Regions from separate parts of the Homo sapiens genome. Here regions 1, 3 and 4 are each linked to region 2. Evidence: promoter capture Hi-C in 16 types of primary human blood cells and fetal thymus (Javierre and others, 2016). All regions are on one chromosome and are shown on one strand. Each heading gives the region's core, a stretch centred on a gene start or on the middle of the fragment in contact. The rest is flanking DNA. Distances are from core to core; before and after follow the strand shown.

The links. Contacts are between HindIII fragments. The CHiCAGO score rates a contact against its expected background, and 5 or more counts as called.
Region 1: a contact is called between a fragment that was not itself captured here and the fragment with the promoter of SNRPA1 in region 2, in 2 of 17 cell types (total B cells and naive B cells). The highest score is 6.6, in total B cells.
Region 3: a fragment that was not itself captured here is called in contact with the fragment with the promoter of SNRPA1 in region 2 in 2 of 17 cell types (megakaryocytes and M0 macrophages); the score reaches 5.6 in megakaryocytes.
Region 4: a contact is called between a fragment that was not itself captured here and the fragment with the promoter of SNRPA1 in region 2, in 1 of 17 cell types (M0 macrophages). The highest score is 5.6, in M0 macrophages.

What each region holds. Positions count from the first base shown.
Region 1 is chr15:101,125,299-101,128,639 of GRCh38, reverse strand. All of the region lies in intron 1 of LRRK1-AS1 (LRRK1 antisense RNA 1), which reads left to right. Among named protein-coding and RNA genes, the nearest start is that of LRRK1-AS1, 25 kb to the left of the region's middle. RefSeq lists enhancers at 615-784, 995-1,104, 1,395-1,444 and a silencer at 1,735-1,784. The HindIII fragment of the contact is 1,094 bases long and covers 1,153-2,246 here.
Region 2 is chr15:101,293,243-101,296,553 of GRCh38, reverse strand. It overlaps SNRPA1 (small nuclear ribonucleoprotein polypeptide A'), which reads left to right and starts at 1,306. Exons shown (of 9, transcript NM_003090.4): 1 at 1,306-1,457. The coding sequence starts at 1,376. It overlaps SNRPA1-DT (SNRPA1 divergent transcript), which reads right to left and starts at 1,206. Exons shown (of 2, transcript NR_186319.1): 1 at 825-1,206. RefSeq lists enhancers at 958-1,047, 1,108-1,157, 1,721-2,352, 3,270-3,311 and a silencer at 1,388-1,577. The HindIII fragment of the contact is 2,362 bases long and covers 809-3,170 here.
Region 3 is chr15:101,464,196-101,467,389 of GRCh38, reverse strand. The region is part of intron 1 of PCSK6 (proprotein convertase subtilisin/kexin type 6); the gene reads left to right. It overlaps LOC124903566, which reads left to right. Exons shown (of 2, transcript XM_047433427.1): 2 at 1-3,194. Among named protein-coding and RNA genes, the nearest start is that of PCSK6, 24 kb to the left of the region's middle. The HindIII fragment of the contact is 7,610 bases long and covers 1-3,194 here.
Region 4 is chr15:101,536,925-101,540,222 of GRCh38, reverse strand. No RefSeq gene overlaps it. Among named protein-coding and RNA genes, the nearest start is that of PCSK6, 49 kb to the right of the region's middle. The HindIII fragment of the contact is 2,539 bases long and covers 1-2,519 here.

The DNA of each region.
Region 1 (3,341 bases), core at 450-2,949, 170 kb after region 2:
TTAGCTGCCTCTTCTTAATTAGCTGCTTATGCAAGCATTCTTTCCCCCCTGTAGATACAAATCAACAATTTCCAAGCCATCTTTGAACCAACCCACTCTTCTGTCCCCTTGCCAATTCCCTAGCTCCAGGGTTAATAAACTTCACATATGCTCAAGAGCAATTGCGTTAAGAAATGTTGCTTCCACGTAATTACTAGCAAAGTGCAGCATCAGCAGCCATTCATCCCTCACACATGTGCAAATTTACTGCAGGGTACATTCCTAGGAGTGTGTGTCATGGAGGACGGCTTGGCAGCTAGCATTCTGTGTGCTCTCCTCGCTGTTCCTTCAAAGGCTGGAAGGTGAGCCACTGCTTTTCCCGCTTCCCTTGCCGCTAGAGTTCTAAATGTGAAATGGGTTATGCCCGGTGGTCAATGTTTAACAACCAGCTCTCAAAAAAAAACAAAAAAACAACACAAAACAAAAGCAACCCGGCTGTTAGTGCTTGCTGATTTCCATGGTGTAAATATATCCACTGTGGTCAATTTCAATCTTGCTATCCCCTGGTGTCCCTGGACCTGGAATTGGAATTGCCGTGCACCGTTGGCTGTCACTAGGCTGAGCCAGCTCCAGCACATCCATAGTCCTGCCAATTCTTCGCACACCACTATGATTCAGAGGCCAAGACTCTCCTCCTGCTGCTTTTGGCCGTTTCTGCTGGCGAGCAAAGTTGTGGTGGTTGTTTTTCCTGTGGCAGCGTTCCAGGGTCCATTCAGTCCCTTTGTGGGGTCAAGAGGCAGGTATGGTACAGCACTGGGAGCCTCCCGACCCCCACCTGGCTGAGTGGAGTCAGGCTAGCAGAGCCCAGCCGGCTGGTCCCCAGGCCTTTTTCCGGGCACCACGCCAATAGGCCTGGCCCATGCCTCTCAATAAAACGGTAAGCCCCTAATTTCCTGTCTAAACCCCTTTTTGCTTAAAATTGTTAGAGTGGTTTCTGTTTCCTGTAACTAAACCCTGGCTGATGTAAAGTGGAACCTGAAACTGCATTTTTTTTTTTTTAAAGCAGATGTACGTTTTCCTTAGGCTTGTCTCCTAATCTGTCTGTGCAGAAGGATTTTAATGCGTTGTGAGGCCTGGGAGGACAATAATGAGTAAATTGGCACTCATTAAGCTTTGTAAATCTGAGAACTCTGGAGACAAAGCATCTGAGTGAGCTGAGAAGGGTGAGACCCACTTCTAGGGTCTGTGAGGCCCTGTCCTCTTAGCACTCCTTCTGCCAGGCCCCGGCAAGGCTGTCTGTGTTCACCAGGCAGAGGCTAGGCTGTAGGATGCTGGCGTTAGTTAGGGAGAAACTGGATTTTCTTAGATCCACAGAATCAGACACAAGTCATGAGACTATGTCATTTAGTTTGCAACTCCAAATGCTTTTGAGGCTGAGTTAACTGTGGGACGTCTCTTTGGATTTACTCTCAGGCAGGGCTCCTCCCTGGGGAGCAAACTACTCCTGAGGTGAGATGGGGGAGAACAGATGTGTACCAGTGATCCCAGCAGCCTAGGGAGGAGGCCCGACTTGCAGAGGCATTCTTTCAGCTCATTAAAGAGCACCCTCTTTGATAAAGGCAATTACCTCTTGGGAAAGAAGCCTGTTAGCAGCCCTCAGAACCTGGGTGTGAATGAATTTCCAGGTTCTTTCCAAGCTGAGAGCAGGTAGGTACTGCGAGGATGAGGCACAGCCTGGGTAAGTCTGGCAGCCGGAACTGTGGGGAGTAGACCCACCCACGGTCACTAATAAGAGGGGCTAGTCGGGACTGTGCCCTGAGAAGTGGGAGCTGAGCCCTGCAGAACCAGCTTCTAGGCTCTGTCCCCTCCTGCTGGCCCTTGGATAAGCCTCTCTGGGCCCCCTGCTTTCTCATCTGTCAAATGGGGATTATATTACCTAGCCTCATAATGTTCTCCTGCGGTGGGTAAAATGGAATCTTCAAAGCGCTAGGGAAATAGAAAGTGAGGGCGGGGTAGTGGGAGCTGTGGGCCTGGGTTCAGGCAGCGAGGTGACACACTGTCACTGAAGTCACAATAATAAAATCTACTAAGTCAGACGACTGGTGTTTTTGTTGCTGTTGTTTGTTTTTCTAATTACCAGGCATGATTAAATACTCCTGCCAGGGAAAATATTTTGTTGATCTAAATTCTAAACAATTGTGAGGGTTTATGTATATATATATATACTTCAAATCAACATGATTTTATTTATTATCCTTTGATAAGCTTTGTATTCCAAGTGAAAGTTAATTTCAGAACTCCCAGGTATAAAGTCGGTCCAGAAATGTGCTTTTCAAAAGTAAGTTGTGAGCCGTCTGAAGCCACTTTGGACATCATTCACGTCTCCAGTGCCCCAGGGTGCTGTGAATTCCTACATTTAAACAGCAGATTTGACGAAGCAACAATAGCACAGTGATCGGAAAGAGGAAGATTCGGAACTTAAGTTACTTCAATTCTGTATTCTGTGTGACCATTGAAGTCTTGTTTGTGTTTAACATTTAAAACAGTATAAGAGGCCAGGAGCGGTGGCTCATGCCTGCCGGTAATCCCAGCACTTTGGAAGGCCGAAGTGGGCGGATCACAAGGTCAGGAGTTCAAGACCAGCCAGACCAACATGGTGAAACCCTGTCTCTACTAAAAATACAAAAAATTAGCTGGGCGTGGTGGCAGCCGCCTGTAATCCCAGCTACTCGGGAGTCTGAGGCAGGAGAATCCCTTGAACTCAGGAGGCAGAGGTTGCAGTGAGCCGAGATCGCGCCACTGCACTCCAGCCTGGGTGACAGTGTGAGACTCAGTCTCAAAAACAAACTAACAACCCCAAAAAACAGTACAAGAGCACAAACTGCAAGGTGAGGGGACATTTTAGTTCATATATGAAATATTTTACTACATTGGAATGATATATTTAAAATTGGAAACATGTTCTTTTTAAATTATTAATTTAAAACTAAGGAACAAATCAAGAAAATTAAATATTAGAGAAAATATAGTAGTTGCCCAAGTTTTATCTTTTGCAGATGTTTTGTCTCATTTACTGAAATATAATTGATATACCATAAAATTCACTGTTTTAAAGTATACAATTCAGTGTTTGCTTTTTCTTTTTCCTTTAACCGTACTCACAAGGTTGTACAGCTTTCACTGCTATCTAATTCTAGAATATCTTTGTCACCTGAAAAATAAACCCCATACCACGAGCAGTCACTCTTCACTTCCCTCAGCCCTGGGCAGCCACTAGTCTATGTCTTCATGGATTTGCCTATTCTCAGAATTTAATAGAAGTGAAATCATATAATAGGTGACTTCTGCATTTGGTTTCTTTC
Region 2 (3,311 bases), core at 57-2,556:
CAACTCCATAAGGAAAAAAAAAAAATGAGCCAGGGACTCGAAAGAACACTTAACCAAGGAAGCTATCAGAATGGGCACCATACACATGAGAAGGTTCTCAGCTTCATTAGTTATTAGAGAAAAGCAAAGCAAAGCAGTAGTGCAATACCACCACACACCCATCAGAATAGCTGAAGTTATAGAGTTAAAATGCCAAGAAGGCTGAAGCTGGAAGCCATGAAAACCCTTACACACCGCTGGAGTGTGTATATTATTTCAGCCTCTTAGCATAACTGTTGGGCATTACTTATTGATGATAGATATACCCTATGTCCCAGCAGTCCCACTCCAGGACAAACTCATGCAAACGTGCATCAGAACCACGTACCAGAAAATTCATAGTAGCATTACTCAGAATAGCCCTAACTGAAAACAACTTTGATGTCTATCAACAGCAGAATAAGTAATTTATGGTATAATATATACAATGGAATTCTCTTCAGCAGCAAAAGCAAACAAACCATCTCTGTATGCAACCTGGATGGACTCCAGACATAATATAGACTCCATGAAACTAGGCCAAAAAAAAAAGCATACTGCATGATTCTATTTATAGCAAAAGCAAGCAAACCGAATTTGTAGTGTTGAGTTCGCGGTTGCCTTTTGGGAAAGAGGGAGGCTTTCAGAATAGCGGTGTTTTGGATCCCGGTGTCGGCTACGCAGCTGTGTTCACTCTGGTCATTAATCACTGTAAATTCCTGATATGCACACTTTTATGTATATCACATTTCATACATATGAATATTCAGAAGTCTAAAGGTCACAAGCTTAACCGCAAACCCTACCGTGCCCGAGGCCGGGCTGGACTTGCGGGGCGGTGGGGTTGTCCCGGCGACCTGCCCCAGGCGGGCCACCTAGCCCGGGATCTCACACTGTAGCCCGGAGCCAAGGCCCAGGCCCGGGGCGGGCACCTGAACTGCTGGACCCTTCACTGAACCCCACGGGTTCCCGCGACGGCTGGTGGAGGGAGGACAGTCACCGCTTCCCCTCCCACCTCGAGGTGCGCTAATGCATGAGAAAGTTCCCCTCGGGTGTTTCCACATTCGCCTTAACTTTTAAACACCAACGTCTGGAATCAGGGGTCCTCCAGACTCCGAAACACACCCTAGGAAACAACCCAGAACGAGACACATCCCCTGTGCGCGCGCCACGACTTCCGGCAAGAACGCCCCCGGAGGCGTGGCTCTTCGATTGCTTCGGCCTGGCGGTCGAGCTGCGCGCGCACTCGGCGGCTGCGATTGGTGCTGCCTGGCGGCGGGGCGCGGGGCACGCTGGGACGTCTCGCTGGCGGGAGGCCACGGGCTTTCCACAGCGCGGGGGAACGGGAGGCTGCAGGATGGTCAAGCTGACGGCGGAGCTGATCGAGCAGGCGGCGCAGTACACCAACGCGGTGCGCGACCGGGAGCTGGACCTCCGGGGTGAGTCCGGGGGCGTGGGCGGCCAGTCCCCAGGCGGCACCGAGCCGCCTTATTTTCCGCGCTTTGCCGCGTGCACCGAAGGCCGGAGCTTGGCCCGCGGGCCGGTTGTCTGGGCTCCGACCGGGCTGCGCAGGGAACGCCGGGCCTGATTCTTGCCGTTGTTGCCAGATGAGCATCCGGTTAAGCTCCTGGGAGCCTTCTGTTAGCGCCGTGCCTCTTGACAGGCACGGGTGACTTCATTACTTCCTGGTGCGTCCTCGTGGGGCCCTGTTAGGCCTTGCTTGGCTGTTTCGCCGCTGGCTGTTTGAGGGCCCGGAAGAGCGGCTCATTAATGGTTGTAACGCAAGTGCAGGGCGCGGGATTGGTTCTTAATACTTGCCGCCAGATGATATTTTGAGCGTAGATAGGATATGTGTTCATTATTCCTAATGTGAGGGAGGAAACTAAGTCCCCGAACAACCGCGATTGTTTCCTCCAGTATTTTCTACTTAGTAGCTTTAATTGTCTGGCGTTTCCCCTATATGAAGACGTTTTAAAAATTGAACTGTGTCACCCAGGCTTGCACCGCCGGGTGCTGTGTGTAAGTTGTGGAAGCGCTCGCAATTATTCAGATTCCTGTACTATTTCAACCTTAGCAAGACTTGGTAAGATACTGGGAGGGCAGCTAGCTAGTTGGCATTTCAGGAGACGGCTTTAAAAGGGACGTGATAGAGCAACTTCTCTGAGGATAAGACCATGCTGTCGTAGCCTGAGATTTGTTCCCATGGGGACCTATGGCCTCGGAGCAGCATCGCTGCGGGATCTGCTTAGATTTCTTGCCGACCTTTGGGAAATCCCACTGTTTTGTGTTGTGTTGTGTTGAGATGGAGTCTCGCTCTTTCCGCCCCAGCTGGAGCGCAGTGGCGTGATCTCGGCTCACTGCAACCGCCGCCTCCCCGGTTCAGGTGATTCCTGTGTCTCAAGCCTCCCGAGTAGCTGGGAATACAGGCATGCGCCACCACGCCCGGCTAATTTTTTGTATTTTTAGTAAAGACATGGTTTCTCCATGTTGGTCAGGCTGGTCTCGAACTCCCGACCTCAGGTGATCCGCCCGCCTTGGTCTCCCGAAGTGCTGGGATTACAGGCTTGAGCCACTGCGCCCGGCCCAACTCACCACTTTTGATGATCTCTGCCATTTCTCTTTATGGAGCATGTGCAGTGTTGAGAATACGTATTTTGATGCAGTACGTGTAGTACAGCTCTGAATTGTGTCCTTTAACTTTGGGTAAGTTCTTTTTTTAGTAGACCTTGCTTCTTCGGAATATTTCTTTTCTTATAGTGCCTAACACAATAATTATGCCCAAATTAGACAAATTAACATTTGAGTGTTCACAGATTTATTACTGTATTTAAACCATTGATCTTCAATTCTGAATTGGAGCTGGGGGAGGGGAGGGAGAACTGTCGTGATATGTTGAGGCTGTTCTGATGGGTTCTAAGAATCTGGCCTGTGGAGATGCAAGAGTGGAGAACTGTCGTCCACAATGTTTGAACGCCGTTTGGGCACTGAGACTAAGCAGCTCCAAGTGTAAACTCCTGTTGTGCCGATTCCGCTTAACTAGCCCAAACGACTTAGGACAGTGTGAGGCACCTTGTAAATGTTCTTATAAATGTTAGCTGCCTATATCAGCCATTGTTATTGTCCTTGTCCTTGTTGTCATCAGATTCTAAGCTTCATGGCACTGGGGACTTGAGACTCGTTCAGCGTTTTCTCTCTAGTATCTTAAACAGCGGCAAGTCATGCGTGACCCGACATAGGTGCTAGGTAATACTTCCTGAATAAATCAAAGCCTGGAGTCAGATACTATGAAATAC
Region 3 (3,194 bases), core at 526-3,025, 170 kb before region 2:
TGAGGCAGGAGAATTGCTTGAACTGGGAGGCAGAGGTGGCAGTGAGCCGTGATCGTGCCATTGCACTCCAGCCTGGGCGACAGAGCGAGACTCTGTCTTGAAAAAAAAAAAAAAAGAATTGTTGCTAAGAACAGCCTTATACAAGACCGCTAGTACACAAATGCCAGAGTTTCTTTGGGGTGTGTGCCTAGAATTGGGATTACTGGGTGTACATATACGGCATATGAATCCTTTGTCAGTTAACAGGAGTGGGAAACCGTGTTTCCCAGTTTATGAATTTTTTTTACCTGTATGGGGTGTCTTCTGATTAAACTGGAGAGTTAACTTTTACATAATTGTATATAAAAATTTATTCTCTTTTAATAACAATTCTGTTAAGTTATAATTCACATAGGATGCACCTATCTAGAGCATGCAGCTCAGTGGGTTTTGGTACATTCAGAGAGTTGTACAACTGTCCCCGCACCCCATCTGATAACATTTTCATCACCCCAGAAAGAAATGCTATCCCCGTCTTAGCAGTCAGTCCCCATCTACCCCACTCCCTTAACCCTAAGCAGCCACTCATCTACTCTCCGTCTCTCTAGATTTGCCTATTCTGGACATTTCATATAATGGAATCATACAGTAATAATAGGGTCTTTTTGTATCTGGCTTCTTTGACTTAGCATGTTTTCAAGGTTCATCCATTTTATAACATGTATTAATATGTCATGATTTTTATCACCAGATAACATTCCACTGTAATGAATTGCCCACATTGTGTTTGCTCATTTATCAACCGATGGACATTTAGGTTGTTCCCAGGTTTTTTGCTGTTGTGAATAACGCTGCTGTGGATATTCACGTGCAAGTTGTATGTGGACGTATGTTTTTACCTTTCTAGGGAGCTTATCTAGCTGTGGAGTGGCTGAGTCATATGGCAGCTCTATGTTTACATTTCTGAGAAACTGCCAGGCTGTGGACCCACCCTTCACGGTCTCACCAGCCATGTCTGAGGGTTCCAGTGTCACCACATCCTCATCAGCACTTGTGATGATGCGTCTTTTTTTCTGCACCCATCTCATAGATGGAGTGGTTTGCATTTCCCTTACGGCTAATGACGTTGAACGTATGTTCCTGTGCTTTTTGGTCATTTGTGTCTCTTTTTTAGAGAACCGTCTGCTCAGATTTTTGTTCATGTTTAGTGGGTTTATGTGGCTTTTATTGTTGTATATTCTAGATACGAGTCCTTTATCAGACACGTGACTTGCAGTCATTGTCATCCTTCTCTGGGTTGTCTTTTCACTTTCTTGATGGTGTCCTTTGGAGCACGGACATTGTTTTTTTAATCCACTCTGACATTCTCTGTCTTTTGATTGGTGTGTTGAGACCATTCACATTTAAAGTCCTTGCTGGCGTTGTTGGATCAGTATCTACCGTGTTTGTAACTTTTCTGTTTGTTACATTTGTTCTCCGCACCCCTGCCCCTCCCCAACCCCACTCCTTTCTGCCTTCTCTGGTTTTCATTGAGCCTTTTAGATAATTCCATTTTGTCTCCTTGCTTAATGTGTCGATTATACTTCTCTTAAAATTTTTTTAGTGGTTTCCTTAAAGATTACAATACAGTTCATACTTAACTGATTTAAGTCCACCTTGAAGTAATACCGTGCGGCATCACGTGTAGTTCAGGTGCCTTAGATCATTACCAATGTCCCCCTCACGGCCCCATCTCTTAGGACACCATTGTCTTCCTTCAGTTAGCGCTTCCTCTGTTCTTGTTTAAGAAATCCTTCCTACCCCACAGTCAGAAAGATCTCCTCTAGTGCTAGTCAGTGTCTCAGAAGGCAACAGGTGGCCCCTCTGTCCTCTTCTAATAGCCCTCATCCCGCCAGCTCAGAGCCAGAGTGGAGCCTCAGCCGTTCCTGGGTGTGTCCGCACACTCTGCTCTGGAGCTGGGGAATGACCTCAGGAGGGGCTGAGCTGCACTGGACGTACCATCAGATGGTCCTGTTTCCATGAGCAGAACAAGACGTGCTGTTTCCACCCAGCTCAGGACCTGTGCGTCTCAGTAGCACATCAGGGCTGTAGAATCAGTGCGGGTTTAGGGCCTGTGTTTAGTAGCCAGTGGGAGGTCAGCGTGTGTCCCTGTCCCCAGCACACAGCCGCCTGGCAACAAGTGGCCATGCGAGTCTGGGGAACGTGTGAGGACAGGCTGAGGACAGGCTCACCACACACGCTGATTGCCCCTCGCAGGGCCCTTTCTTAAAGGGTCCCAGCCTCCCCGTCATTGGTCTGGACACTGGATGATGTTGCAAATCCCCACTATGGTTCTGCTCAGCAGACCCAGTAGGTCCCAGCTTCTGTGTGTCAAGCGGCATCTGATCAGGCTTGCCCTCTTTTTCATCTTGGAGCCTCTCCCCAGGTCCTGCGAGTCAAGTACACTGAGTAGCCTCTGTCCCCTTGCTTAGGTGATCACTCTGGTATGCCCGCCGCTGGCCCCTACTACCCAGGATCCCGCAGTTCCCGTGGAGAGTGGGAACCTGGTGCTGTGGGAGCATCCCTTGTCACCGGCGGGATAGAGCGGACAGCCTCCATGGACTTCTTTAGGAGGACGCTGACCCTCCCCCAGGCATTTTCCTAACCCCTTGGTGAGGAGACCAGCTCCAGGCCTCCCCAGGGAGTATAGGCCAGGTGGCTTAACAGGGTGTCACGCAGTAGATCCCTCCAGCCTCCCATTTCCCTGCATTCCCAGCAGACCAGCAGCAGCTACATTTGGGACCTTGTTAGAAATGAAAATCCTTGGACCCCACCACAGCCTGCTCGATCACAGACTCCGGGAGAGGGCCCAACAATCTGGCTTTAATAAACCGTCTGGGGCTGGAGAACCACAGCTCTGCAGGATGTCCCGGAGGTCCAGCATACTGACCTCATCAGCGATTGGTTTTTATTAATTCTAGACTTGGATTAGCCAATCTTGTAGACTATACACACCCCTCGATGTTCAAGGTTCACATTAAATGACCAAATTGTGAGGGAACCACCTTGTCCACACGTGTGGGTACATATGACCTACTTGCATTTCGTCCCGCTTGGAGCCCACCTCCCAGGCTCCTGCCCCCACACAGTGGACATCTCCTTCTGACGCAGTTCCTGTGCCTTGGGGTCTGCCTTGTTTTATGGGCCCAGGTGGCGCAGGATGTGGGTGAGTCTGT
Region 4 (3,298 bases), core at 1-2,500, 240 kb before region 2:
TGAACACTGCAGAGGGTGGGATGCTAGAGGGAGCTTTAGGAAGTGGGAGGCAGGGACAGGGATAATGAAGTGTCCGTACAAGACACCACCCTGGCTTCAGGAATCAGTGGCCAGGGCCCGTTGCTTCTCCACATACTGCAAGGCAGGCCCTGGACCTGACTGTTATTATTTCATGGCCAGGGGCATGTGGAACACACTGTATTTTGTGTTGAAGTCTCTTTGAATCATCACCCGGTGATTTGCATTCCTAAAACTCAAGATGTGGGCGTTTATATGAATATTTTAATACTGTTCTTAGAGGTAGCGTTCGAGGCTACCCCTTAATTAATTTGATTTTTGGAATCTGGAGAGAAAAAGTTTTGCCAGGAATGCATTATTGGCCTACCAGGGGCCCCCTTCCACCTCTGCAGACACAGACACACGCACCCGAACCCCTTCCACGAAGGCTGCTTGCTGTTCAACAAACACAGGTGCAGAAGCCACTCCAGCTGGAAGCAGGGTTGCAGCAGCGTCCTCTCGGCCAGAGCTCACTCCGTCCTTCTCAACACTTCCATGGACTTGTCCCAGCGCCCGGAGGGCAGCAGGGCACAGGCTGACCTGGCACAGTATGCTTGAATCCCCGCCGCGGTCCTGTTTCCATTTGAGAAGTTTATTCACGTTGTTTCAGTTTTATTTTTATTACATGAATAGTACCAGCTTATTGGTGAAACATTAGAGAATAGGCGAAAACAAATGAACAGCAACTCCAATTCCTCTGTCCAGATATTCAGAAATTTTCCTGTGTGTGGGCATAAGCATGCACGTACATGTGCACACACTTCCAGTTACAATAGCTGTGTAACAAACTATCCCCAAAACAGAGTGGCATAAAACCACCATCTATTATCCTATGAGAGGAACTTGGTTGTGTGCAATGGGGATGGTTCTTCTCTGCCCAGTAACGTCTGGGGTCTCAGCAGAGACACTAGGAGGGTCAGTATCATCTGAAGCCTCGTTCAGGCCAGTGCTGGGTGTTGGTGGCCAGTTGGTGCTGTTGGCCTCTTCAAGCGGCCAGGGCTTCCTCACAACATGGTGGCTGGGTTCCGAGGGCAAGTGTCCCAAGAGATAGAGAGAGCCAGGCAAAAGCAGCTTTTCTGACCTAACTTCAGGAGTAATGGGCGTCTCCTTTACCACCTCATTTTAGCTGAAAGTTGCAGAGACCTGCCAGGCTCAAGGGGAGGGAAGAGACACTCCGCCTTCGGACAGAGAGTGGCAGAGTTCTGGAAATGCATTCAGGACCAGAAATACTGCTATGGCCATTTTTGGAAAACACAATCTGCCATGTTAAAATTTCATAATATTTTCATGCTACACTTACAGCTTCCCTTTTATTGAGGTATAACATTCACACAATGCAGGGCTCAAATCTTGAGTATACAGCTCAATGATTTGATAAGTCTATAATCCTTTGTATCCCCCCACCCATCAAGACAGAGAACATTTCTGGCATCTGGAGGGTTCCCTATGCCCCTTGCTGGTCAATACCCACCCTTTTCCCCACGCTTGCACACTCTCTGACTTTTATCACTAAAGATGTGTTTTCTAGCCTGTGTTTTTCCCAAACGCATTATTAATGGTTAACCATGCCAGTACTCACTTTGAATAGCTGTATGGTTCACACACGTATGGAAATATCATCGTTTAACCAATAACTTGTGGTTGGAACTCTAAGGGTTTTACAACATCCATGAGGGAAAATCAAAAGATGGTAGACCATGGCTCTGCCCAAGGGCCCTATCACCACAACCCACCTCGTGAAAACTGTTGGCTGCCTTCACCCCCAACCTGGGGTTTCCTGGGGACAGTAATGGGGACAGCTGCTGGCCAGACAGCACTGGTCACAAGGGAAGATGGTCCCTCCACAAGGCATATATATGGCTTGATCCTCCTGGGGTTGGCCTGAATGACTTGGAAAGGAGATTTATTTATCTGCCACCATTTTAACCATCTGTCCAGTAAGAAGACTATGTCCCAGAGGCTGAACATACATGGTGGCATGGTGGCCTGCCTTTCATACTGCTCTCCTGTATCTCTGCTTTCTCTGAGTGGATAGCATTTCTCCTCTGTCTGTGTCCCTTCAGAATGCCTGGGCTGAAATGTGCTTTGCAATTAAGTGGCACAGGCTTGCTTTATAGACTTTCCTTGTCTGTTAGTTCTAAGTCTTTCCTATAAGGGTGTCATCATATTTGCCCACAACCAAACAAGAAGATGAAAGGGAGGAAAGGGTAGAGGCATGAGGAAGAGAGGGGGAAGGAGAGGGGAAGTACTGGCTGGAGGAAGAGAGGAGCCACTGTTCTAATTTTGCTAGGGGGGAAGTCAGGGTTTGTGAGGTCATATATCATCATGTTGAGTTTACAAATAAAGACACCAGAGACCACTGGTGCTCAAACACAGGATGCAGACGCTCTGTCTGCAAGGCATTTTTTTCTAAGGAAAATTAAATTCCAAAAATATTTGCACTGACTTGAAAAAAAAAAGCTTCTCCTCACGTCTCCCAGTTTCAGCTGCATTCCTCATTTGTATGTTGAGTATGAATCCCTTTTTAAAAAGTTTAAATAAGAACAGAAGCTATCCAAGATTGGAGAACACATTGTGTAAATGGAAAGAACACACTAAATGGGAAGCAAGAAAAAGTGGAGAGAAAGCCCCTTCCTTCCCCATTAAATGGCATGGAAAGGCAGCCCTCAGAAGCTCCCTCCTGATCATCCAGCCATCAGATGGCAAGGGAGAGGGCCGTGTAAGGAGTGCTGTGTTTGGGGCACAGGTGGGGCCAGCATGAGAGGGGAGCCCGGGCAGTAACTCCAGGATGGGATGAGAGTGCCATCCCCAGAGGCAGAAGGCAAGCCTGCAGAGCTTCACTGTGGCCCCTGCAGATTTGTCAGAACGGCATCTGCAGGCAGCACATTTTAGGAACACAAGTGATCGACTGATCCCGGCGGCCTTCCTCAGCTGGGAATAACAGCAGAAGGGAATGTCTTAGGATCCAGAGATGGGACCAGCTAGCTTGCCAAGTGCTTCTCGGCCTCCGCCCGCCATGGAGCCATTGTCCCTCCCGGGTGCCTGCAAACCTTAGGGCAGTGCTGGGTGGTCACTGCGCTCCTCTCCTCTGCCAAACCCTGAAGAGCTGCCTCCGGAGAGGGACACCTCGCCGTGAGCACACCCTCTGCTGCATCCTTGGCTCCGCACAGGAAAGATCAGCTCGCGAGGCCCCCTGGGCCTTATGCCCCGTGACGGCTCTAGGAGGGTTCCCTGTGGGCAG